Regions from separate parts of the Homo sapiens genome. Here region 1 is linked to region 2. Evidence: promoter capture Hi-C in 16 types of primary human blood cells and fetal thymus (Javierre and others, 2016). All regions are on one chromosome and are shown on one strand. Each heading gives the region's core, a stretch centred on a gene start or on the middle of the fragment in contact. The rest is flanking DNA. Distances are from core to core; before and after follow the strand shown.

Evidence for each region. Contacts are between HindIII fragments. The CHiCAGO score rates a contact against its expected background, and 5 or more counts as called.
Region 1: a contact is called between a fragment that was not itself captured here and the fragment with the promoter of SIRT5 in region 2, in 1 of 17 cell types (fetal thymus). The highest score is 7.8, in fetal thymus.

The regions. Positions count from the first base shown.
Region 1 is chr6:15,664,081-15,668,900 of GRCh38, reverse strand. No RefSeq gene overlaps it. Among named protein-coding and RNA genes, the nearest start is that of DTNBP1, 3.5 kb to the right of the region's middle. The HindIII fragment of the contact is 657 bases long and covers 3,242-3,898 here.
Region 2 is chr6:13,571,959-13,576,988 of GRCh38, reverse strand. It overlaps SIRT5 (sirtuin 5), which reads right to left and starts at 2,388. Exons shown (of 10, transcript NM_012241.5): 1 at 2,245-2,388. It overlaps LOC105374937 (a long non-coding RNA gene), which reads left to right and starts at 2,555. Exons shown (of 2, transcript XR_926497.4): 1 at 2,555-3,024; 2 at 3,768-4,917. RefSeq lists enhancers at 1,451-2,036, 1,626-2,105, 2,037-2,623 and a silencer at 2,316-2,835. The HindIII fragment of the contact is 7,984 bases long and covers 1-5,030 here.

The DNA.
Region 1 (4,820 bases), core at 2,321-4,820, 2.1 Mb before region 2:
ACTAATGATCAATTATTACGGCTCCCCCACCAGCATGTATTGACCTGATAGTTAGCTCTAAGTAATCATTGTCTCAAACTTTTTTTTTTTGGCCACTAATTCTTATTAAAGAGTTTCAGTTTGTTATTAAGTTTTCCCACACAAATATATTTCTATGGCACAGTAGTTCAGAAGATGTGATTTCTGAGATGTATTCTCTCTGGGGGAACCATCTATTTGTAAGAGTACAGGACGTGGTTTCCTTTACTCATGTAGAGTCCCTACGCTTTGATGAATGGAGTCACTTGGTCGTTTATGGATATCTTATAGACCATATAGATCCAACCATAGAATAACAAAAAATAAAAGTTTTCCTCCTGTAATGTATCTTTATAGATTATATAGATCTAAACACATATTAACAAAAAATAAACGTTTTCCTCCTTTAATGCAACAGTGTAGTGCCTTCTTTTTTCATCTGAGCAAAAAGATAAGGTTAGGTGCCCAGTCATTTTATGACAGTGGGATACAATTTTGGAACACAAATAGATGCAGCTGAGATCCTTTTACTGTTCTTTCCGTTCAGCTCAGGTAAAATACTCATTTCCAACCTTGCTGTCACTCCCGACAGTGCTTGCCGTCTAGATCTATTATTATAGCTTCTGTCTTCCGACCTTGATATTCTCTAACTACCCCCTTCTCTCCTGTTCTTCAGCTGCGTTCTAATCTTTACTCTCTGAGGTTGGAACTCTCCTCCTTCACCTCCCTGATTTCTGTCTCTGCTTTTCTTTTCAAAATGCTGTGCTGATATCACCTTTCCAGCTTTATCTAGCTTACCTCATTCTTAAAAATACTCATTGCTTCACGAGAAACATTTACAGCTTTTACATGGATTCTTCTGTAACCATTAAACTCTTAAAAATTAAAGATATCAAAAATATTTACATGTTGGCTTTTTAAAAACATCACAAATAATAACAACACACTGTAAATATCTTTACAAATCTAAGTCAGGTTCCTGCAAAGCAATTAACCATAGTCCCTTTCCAATTACTCTAAAAGAGCTCTGCCAATGAAATGGTATGAACTTTTCTGGGTTCTACAGCCCCTTCTTTTTTTTCCTGCTTTTTTTTTATTATTATTATACTTTAAGTTTTAGGGTACATGTGCCAAGTTGGTGTGCTGCACCCATTAACTCGTCATTTAACATTAGGTATATCTCCTAATGCTATCCCTCCCGCCTCCCTCCACCCCACAACAGGCCCCAGTGTATGATGTTCCCCTTCCTGTGTCCATGTGTTCTCACTGTTCAATTCCCACCAATGAGTGAGAACATGCGGTGTTTGGTTTTTTGTCCTTGCGATAGTTTGCCGAGAATAATGGTTTCCAGCTTCATCCATGTCCCTACAAAGGACATGAACTCATCATTTTTTTCACTGCATAGTATTCCATGGTGTATATGTGCCACGTTTTCTTAATCCAGTCTATCATTGTTGGACATTTGGGTTGGTTCCAAGTCTTTGCTATTGCGAATAGTGCCACAATAAACATATGTGTTCATGTGTCTTTATAGCAGCATGATTTACAGTCCTTTGGGTATATACCCAGTAATGGGATGGCTGGGTCAAATGGTATTTCTAGTTCTAGATCCCTGAGGAATCGCCACACTGACTTCCACAATGGTTGAACTAGTTTACAGTCCCACCAACAGTGTAAAAGTGTTCCTATTTCTCCACATTCTCTCCAGCACCTGTTGTTTCCTGACTTTTTAGTGATCGCCATTCTAACTGGTGTGAGATGGTATCTCATTGTGGTTTTGATTTGCATTTCTCTGATGGTCAGCGATGATGAGCATTTTTTCATGTGTCTTTTGGCTGCATAAATGTCTTCTTTTGAGAAGTGTCTGTTCACATCCTTTGCCCACTTGTTGATGGGGTTGTTTTTTTCTTGTAAATTTGTTTGAGTTCATTGTAGATTCTGGATATTAGCCCTTTGTCCGATGAGTAGATTGCAAAAATTTTCTCCCATTCTGTAGGTTGCCTGTTCGCTCTGATGGTGGTTTCTTTCGTACCACCCCTTCTTTAATAGCATCTTTCTCTTTGGTTCTAACTCCGCCAAATCCTCATTTATCACTTTGTCTCCAATAAGAATCTGCTGAGACAGGAAACCCCCTTTCATCAACGAGTAGGGCTTCTCAAATGTTAACATGAATAAAAATCACCCGGGGGGTCTTAATAAAACTCAGATTCTGATTCAGTAGGGCTGGCTGGGGCCTACGATTCTACCTTTGCAGGAAGCTCCCAGATGATGCGGCTGCTGCTGGTCAGGGAAGCACTATTTCAGGAAACTTCTTAGCAGCTTTGGTGCTCACCCCAAACGTTGTATCACCAAAGCTTTTCCTGGGCGCAACTAATATGCTCTCAAAAAATCAACTCTCTGCTGGGCGCGGTGGCTCATGCCTGTAATCCCAGCATTTTGGGAGGCCAAGGCAGGCGGATCACTTGAGGTCAGGAGTTTGAGACCAGCCTGTCCAACATAGTGAAACCTTGTCTCTACTAAAAATACAAAAATTAGCTGGGCGTGGTGGCGGAAGCCTGTAATCCCAGCTACCCAGGAGGCTGAGGCAGGAGAATCACTTGAACCCAGGAGGTGGAGGCTACAGTGAGCCAAGATTGCACCACTGCACTCCAGCCTAGGTGACAGAGGGAGACTCCGTCTTAAAACAAAACAAACAAAAAAACCCCAAACAAACAACAATCAACTCTCAACCAATTCCTGAATTAAGATTAGGTCAATAGCTTCCATACTGATGTTGGTTCTCAAACTGTACTTAAAAGCTTTGTTTTTTTTTTCATTTTGCCAATCCATCTTCCTAGTTTCTGGCTGATTACTGTTACTTATGTAAACACGACATGTCACATGCTTCAACTCTTGGTCCTTAATCATTCCTCCTGAGCAACTCATGTACAACAGTAGTTATTTTCTAATTTTTTTAATATTTACTTCTTTAAATCATAAATTATCTTTTTATTAGCACTTTTAAAACTTTCACTGTTTTTTAATTTAATAGATATGATGGAATTAAGAATGTTCAGAAAGCACCTCAAATACAAACATGCCATAGACTAATAAACAGTGCATTGGTCAAGACAGAAATGATCAGGCACAACCAGTAAAGCTATTTTTTAGTGACAGGCAAGAGTCTTTTTTGAGTGGATTTGGTGCTTTGTTGGAATGTATGAAACTTAGTAAATTGAAAGCTTATGTGTAGAGTTTAATTGAATAAAAGAAAAAAATTTAATATTTCCCAGTACTTGTGGTTTTCAAATCTACTAGATACTAAGGGACCTGTCTGTAGATTTGATCATTTGATCACTTGCTTTGTTCCAGGCACTGTTTCTGAGAGGTAGAAGAAGGCTCAATAAACAGCACTCCTCTTTCTTACTTGTCTGAGCAAACTGAGAAATAAAACAATAGTGTCAGCATAAAGAGGCCAAAATATCACTTTTATATCTAGGAAGACTGATGGAACACATGGCTTATATTCATGGGCAAGCAGAACTTCTAGTACCCAGTCACAAAAAGCACTGGGTTGCCCTTCAAGCCTGTCTTTAGGCAGCAGAATGAATGCTCTTTGTTGGAAGTGTTCACTCAACAAAAAGAAAAGAAGATGAGACCAAGCTCCTTACTTCTAGCTCACTAATCATCGTAGTCACCTCTTCCCCACCAGGAGAGGCTGGGTACTTCTTTATGTTAGCAGAAGAGCTCCCTTCCCATGGAAGAAAACATCAAGAGTGGGGAAGAGGTGGTCCCCCAGCTACAAGCTAAGTCCTTTATCTTATTTAACTCCTGCAACAAGACATTTACTGGGTGTCTGTTATGTGCCATTCACTGTTTTCATTGCTGGGGATGCAAAGCTTAATAAGACAGAGCAGTTTACATCTGGGCCTGTACTTGTGCTACTTACCTCACTGGCCTCATCCAATCCCAGCCCTAACAGATCCTGTGTATTTAAAATTTTGATATTTTGTTCATCACAGATTTTTTTTCATTAATTTTGAATTTTTTAAATATTGTATTAAAATATTACTTATCTTGATTACTGAGCTTTTTGGCTCCCGTAAATTTTGTACCTGAGGTGAATGCCTTATTTGTCGTGGTTTTAAAATATGTTTGTAAACAACTAAATTAATAAATAGCAAATAATTATTGAATAAATTTTCTAATGTGTACTAAGTTGAGAAACAGGCTACGTGATAGGAAGTGATTGGGTGTGTAACTTGAATGGTAAGTAAAACCTATCTAATGTGATGCTATTTAGGATGTGACCCTTATGTTATAAGGAGCCAGACAAGGGACAGTTTGGAGAAAAGTTTGTGAAAACACCACAGGTGGAAATAAACCTGGAATTTTCTAAGAACACACCAAAAAAAAAAAAAAAAAAAAGGCTATTATGTCTTAATTGTCAAGGACATGATAGGTGACTAGTAATCAATTTGGATACAGTGCTAGAAAACATTCAAATTTTAGGGCTTTTTAAGGGGGTAAGTAGTTTGAATTTTATTCCAAGTGCCCAGGAGGCAATTGGAAGATTTTAAGCAGGGGAGCAACGTGATCCGATTGATCTTTTAAATAACTCTTTCTGGCTGCTGTGTCAAGGATGGATTATAGGGGTGTGTATGGCAAAAGAGTAGAATCTGGAAGAACTGTCTGTGTTCCCATTGAAAGAGGATGGTGCCTTCGACCAGGATAAATATAGTGAAGATATAGAAAGAGAAGGAGGTTCCAGAAATACTTCAGGAGTAGAGTTGATTGGATTTGATGGGTTAATATGGGGAATG
Region 2 (5,030 bases), core at 1,139-3,638:
AGAAAGCCCAGAAATAAGCCCAAGTATTTACAGTCAATTGATTTTTGACAAAGGTGCTAAGAACACACAATGGGAAAAGGAAAGTCTCTTTAATAAATGGCATCAGGAAAACTGAATATCCACATGCTGGATAACAAAATTGAGTCCTTATCTCACACCATATACAAAAATCAACTCAAAATAGATTAAAGTCTCAAACATAACACCTGAAACTGTAAAACTAATAGAAGATAACATAGGTGAAAACTCCATATTAGTCTGGGCAATGATTTCTTGGATAGGACCCCAAAAGCAACAAAAGCAAAAATAGACACATGGGATTGCATCAAACTAAAAAGCCTCTGCACAGCAAAGAAAATAATTAACAGAGTAAAGAGACAACCCACAGACTGGGAGAAAATATTTGCAAACCATGCATCTGATAAGGGGCTCTTATCTAAAATATATAAGAAACTCAAAAAACTCAACAGCAAAACAAAACAAAACGAATAACCCGGTTAAAAAATGGACAAAGAACCTGAACAGGTATTCCTCAAAAGAAGACATATGAATGGTCAACAAATACATGAAAAACGCTCAACTTTGCTAACCACCAGGGAAATGCAAATTAAATCACACTGAGCTACCACCTCACGCTTGTTAGAATGGCTATTATAAAAAAGATCAAAGACAACAAGTTTTGTCCAGAATGTGGAGAAAAGGGAACCCTGGTACACTGTTGGTGGAATGTAAATTAGTACAGCCATTTTGGAAAACAGTATGGAGGCTCCTCAAAATCTAAAAATAGAATTACCACATGACCCAGAAATCCTACTTCTGGGTATATATACAAAGGAATTGAAATCAGTATGTTGAAGAGATAGCTGCATTCCTGTGTTGTTTTCAGCATTATTCACAATAACCAAGATATAGAAGCAACTAAGTATCCATCAACTGAGGACCGGATAAAGAAAATGTGGCACATATATACAATGGAATACTATACAGTCTTAAAACAGAAGGCAATTCTGTCATTTGCAACAACATGGATGAACCTGGAGGACATGAGGCCAAGTAAAATAAGCCAGGCACAGAAGGACAAACAGCACATGATCTTACTTATATACTTGGGGTCTAAAAAAGTTGAACTCATAGAAGCAGAGTAGAATGATGGTTACCAGGGGCCTGGCAGAGGGCTGATGTGGAAGGGAGGGATGTTGGTCAAAGGATACAAAGTTTTAGTTAGGTAAGAGGAGTAAGTTTTAGTGATCTACTGCACAGCATGGTGACCATAGTTGATGATGTATTGTATATTTCCAGGAGAGTAGATTTTCACCACAAAAAATAAGTAGGTGAGGTGATGGATATGTCAATTAGCTTGATTTAATCTTTCTACAATGTATACATATATCAAAACATTACACTGTACGCTATAAATATATAAATTTGTCAATAAAAATAATTATATAAATATATATTTATATAAAACAAAATACATGCTAAGGATAATGCAATGAACTGCAAAAAGTTGTACAGGCTCCCAATAAATAATTTTTGAACGCCTAAGAGCTAAATAAATGCAATACATCACTCCCAGGTGTCTCCACTAGGGGGCCCCATTCCCTCCCGTTCCATCACCTGCTTTCCTCAAGGTCGTCTCCACCCTCCTATTTGTTGATACCCGGCCTCTGACCCAGTTCATCACTTTCCCGGGCTTCCGGGCGCCACCCTCTTCAGGTTTTCCTCCTACCCCTCCAGCCCTGCCCCTCTGGATCTCCCATCCTCCCAGCGCGCCAGACTGCATGCGGCCTCCCCGCCCTGTGTCCAAGAGGCAGCTTCCACTCCACGCGGGCAAGCCTGAGCTCCAGAGCCGTCCTCAAGCCGCCTCCCCCCGAAGCACTGGGACTTCATCCTCCCGGCTACTACTCGTGCCCAGGGACTAGGCCCTGAGCCTTCCCTTCTCGCACGCCCCATAGCCAAGCTGCTCAGCAGAACCTGACGGCTCCACCTTCAAACTACGTCCGGAATCCGACCCCTCTCCACGCCCACTGCCTCCACCCCGGCCACCTTCCTCGGTCACCCTGGCAGCTGCAATGACCAGGGTGACCTTTCTGAAAAGGGAGGCTCTGTTCGGAGCCCTCGCGGGGCTCCCCAGCACAGCGGCCTCCCATGCCCACCTGCTCGGGTGGGATTACTTTCCAACCCCGTTTCCATCCCCCTCCCTGGTCTCCAGCCGCAGCGACCCCCACGCAGAGCCCGGAAGACCTTGGGCCCCGCACATGCTGCCGGCCCGCTAAGAGCTCTGGGTACCCCCGGAGCGCCTTCCAGGCTTTCTCCTAGAGGCGCTGTGTCCCGACCGCGCTCCGGACCTGAGCCACGGCTCACCTGGGGCAGCTCGCGCCCCCGAATACAGTCTCCCACGCCCCGCCCCCCGGGGTGCCTCCCTCCCAGCTCTCTGTACCCACCCACCATCCCCCACATCCCTTCCTCCAACCGCTAGCCAGTCACCAGCCCGGGACCGCAGGGCAGAGGCCGGGCCGCGCATGCGCACCGCGGACCGGTGCCACCTCCGCTCGCGAGCCCGCGGCAGGCCCTGGGCGGTGCGCGCAGTCCCGCGAGAGCAGTGCTTGGTCGGGACCTCGAAGCCGGAGCCCGAGCGGGAGAGGCCGCGGAGACCCCGGCCCGGCGCAGGCAGAGACGCACCTGCGGGAGGCGGGCGCGCCGGCTGGAGAGGAGGCCGTGGGGCGGAGCGGCTCAGCGTTCTGCTCGGCTGCAGCGGCCCCTGCCGGAGACCCGGGCGCCGTGGTCTTCTTTATAATTGAAGGATTGTCTCTCTGTTTTTATTTGGGGTGGGGGTGGGGGTGGGGGGCGGCGCAGTGACTTGCTTCGACTTTGTCAGCTTCCAGGGTTCATTCCACTGCCCAAATATGTAGTGAGTTACTACCGGCTTTGCTTCCTCCTTCAGCAAACGGCTGGACCACACAACTTCAGGAGAGAGGATTTTAAATGTTAGGGTCATTTTCCCTAAAACGATTTCAAATGACGGTGAGTTGGTTCCCAGGCTAGGCCACCTAACCTCGAACGCAATGACGAGTGCACTCTGACTGCTGAGCTGAGAGCCTTCCGTGGCTCTGGGACCCAGTGACTCACGTGGCTCCGCATGTCCCCGTTCCCTTAAAATCGGAGTCTTTCCTTTTCTTGGATTCCGGCTTGCCACCAGCACCACTTGGCAGAATGGAATTGCTTGCGGGCATGTCAGTGGACTAGAAAGGGAAGTAAGTGGTCTGAGAACTTGGGGGCCAAAAATGTTACATTAACATTTTTTGCCTACCTAAAATCTCAGCCACTTCCCACAGTTTGGCTGGAAATTCAGCCCATGTTGAGGCCCTTCTCATTCCTGCAGGTGTTACCAGCAACTCAGAGGTTTATGGAGTAACGAAATTGGGGAGGGCCTCACATCCGGCTGCTGTTTTTCCCCCTAACGTGTATGGTGCTTATTCTGAGCCAGACACTTTTAAGAACTGCACATTATTAACCATTTTAAATCGTCCCCACCACCTGATGAAATAGGTACTGTTATCCCCACTTTATGGGTGGGGAAACCGAGGCCCAGGGAGGTCAAGTAACTGCGCAAAGCACAAAACTGTTGAGTAGTAGTGTTACCAGGGCAGTCCTGGAGAAATCGCTCAGAGGGCAAAACTGAGAGCTCATTATTTTCTTAAACAGTAGACAGCTGAAAATGCTCATTGTTTTTTAAACCGTTTTGTTTGTTTGATTTTTTTTCCTAGTCTCTTTATCTATAGGTAACCCAGCTTAAAACAACTGCGGTTGGCCCGGGATCCTCACTGCCCTTTGCCAAGTACCAGAGAAAGATAAGGCCTACTAGGAACCAGAGAAAACCAGAACCAGCCACCCCTTGTTACTTTTAGATCATTAATACATCATTATATGCTCAACTCCCGACCCGTAGAAGAGAATCGCCGCCATTTTCTGATAGTGCATTGTATGAAGAGGCATGTTTATGAAATGCACCTGTGCGTCTAGAGTTCCTCCCGGCATATGCTTGCATACCTCCCCACTCCACATCTAACGCCTTACAATTCCCCAGCTTCCCAAAGCTCTGGAAGAAGGGGGTCTTTAGAGTGAAAGTTTACTCCTTCTCTATTCCTGGCCAGGAATGAAACCCGCTTGCCGTTTTTTCCAGTTGGTGTGCTTTCTTTGCAACTGATACAGACTAGGAAAAGAACGCAATTTACCAGTAACAGTAGAGCTGGGATTTAAATCTAAGTGCTTTGACTTCAAAGACAAGGTTCCAAGCTGCTACACATACCAATTCTCGTTAAAGTGTATTCCATTTCTTTTGTGCTTTCATATTGACCATTGTGTGTTAATCCTTTCAATTGGAAGAAGAGGGAGACAGTGCCAGTTATTGCAAACTTTCACAGTCCACAGGCCCGATATGTAGCCTTCACCACCCACAGGTTCTGCCACTTCTGGGGCATTATATTCCATCAAGATCCAGGCACCCGCCATCCACATACCAGCCCTGGAACTCGTCCCTTCTCCCAGACTTGGAAACGCCACCTCTCCCTGACCAATGTCGAGCCACTTCCTCATCTTGATACATCAGCCACTATCCTTTCCATCTTTCAGGCAACTCCAGCTTAATTTCTCGATGGCCTTGCCCTTCTAAAAGGCCGTTCTCTTTTCCCAGATGACTTTTTCCTATCCCCTCCACAGTAACTCCCCTCATCCTTCCAGTCTCAATTCAATTGTTCCTTGGTGGGGTGGGGCGGGGGGAGCCTTCTTAAACCCTCCTCCCTCACAACTGCATGAGGTCCCTTGTCTCTAATATAAGCTCCTGTAGCACCATGGCACTTATCCCAGTTGAGATTTTAAATATATTTCTGTGTATTTGATTAAAGTTTCTCTCCTCCACCAGGCTGTGAAGGTGGCTTCTTGTTTTGTTTTGCTCCCCGTGGTATTCCCAGCACCTCAGGATCCCTTATAGTAGATGCTGAATTAGTAAATACATATTAAATAAATGAATG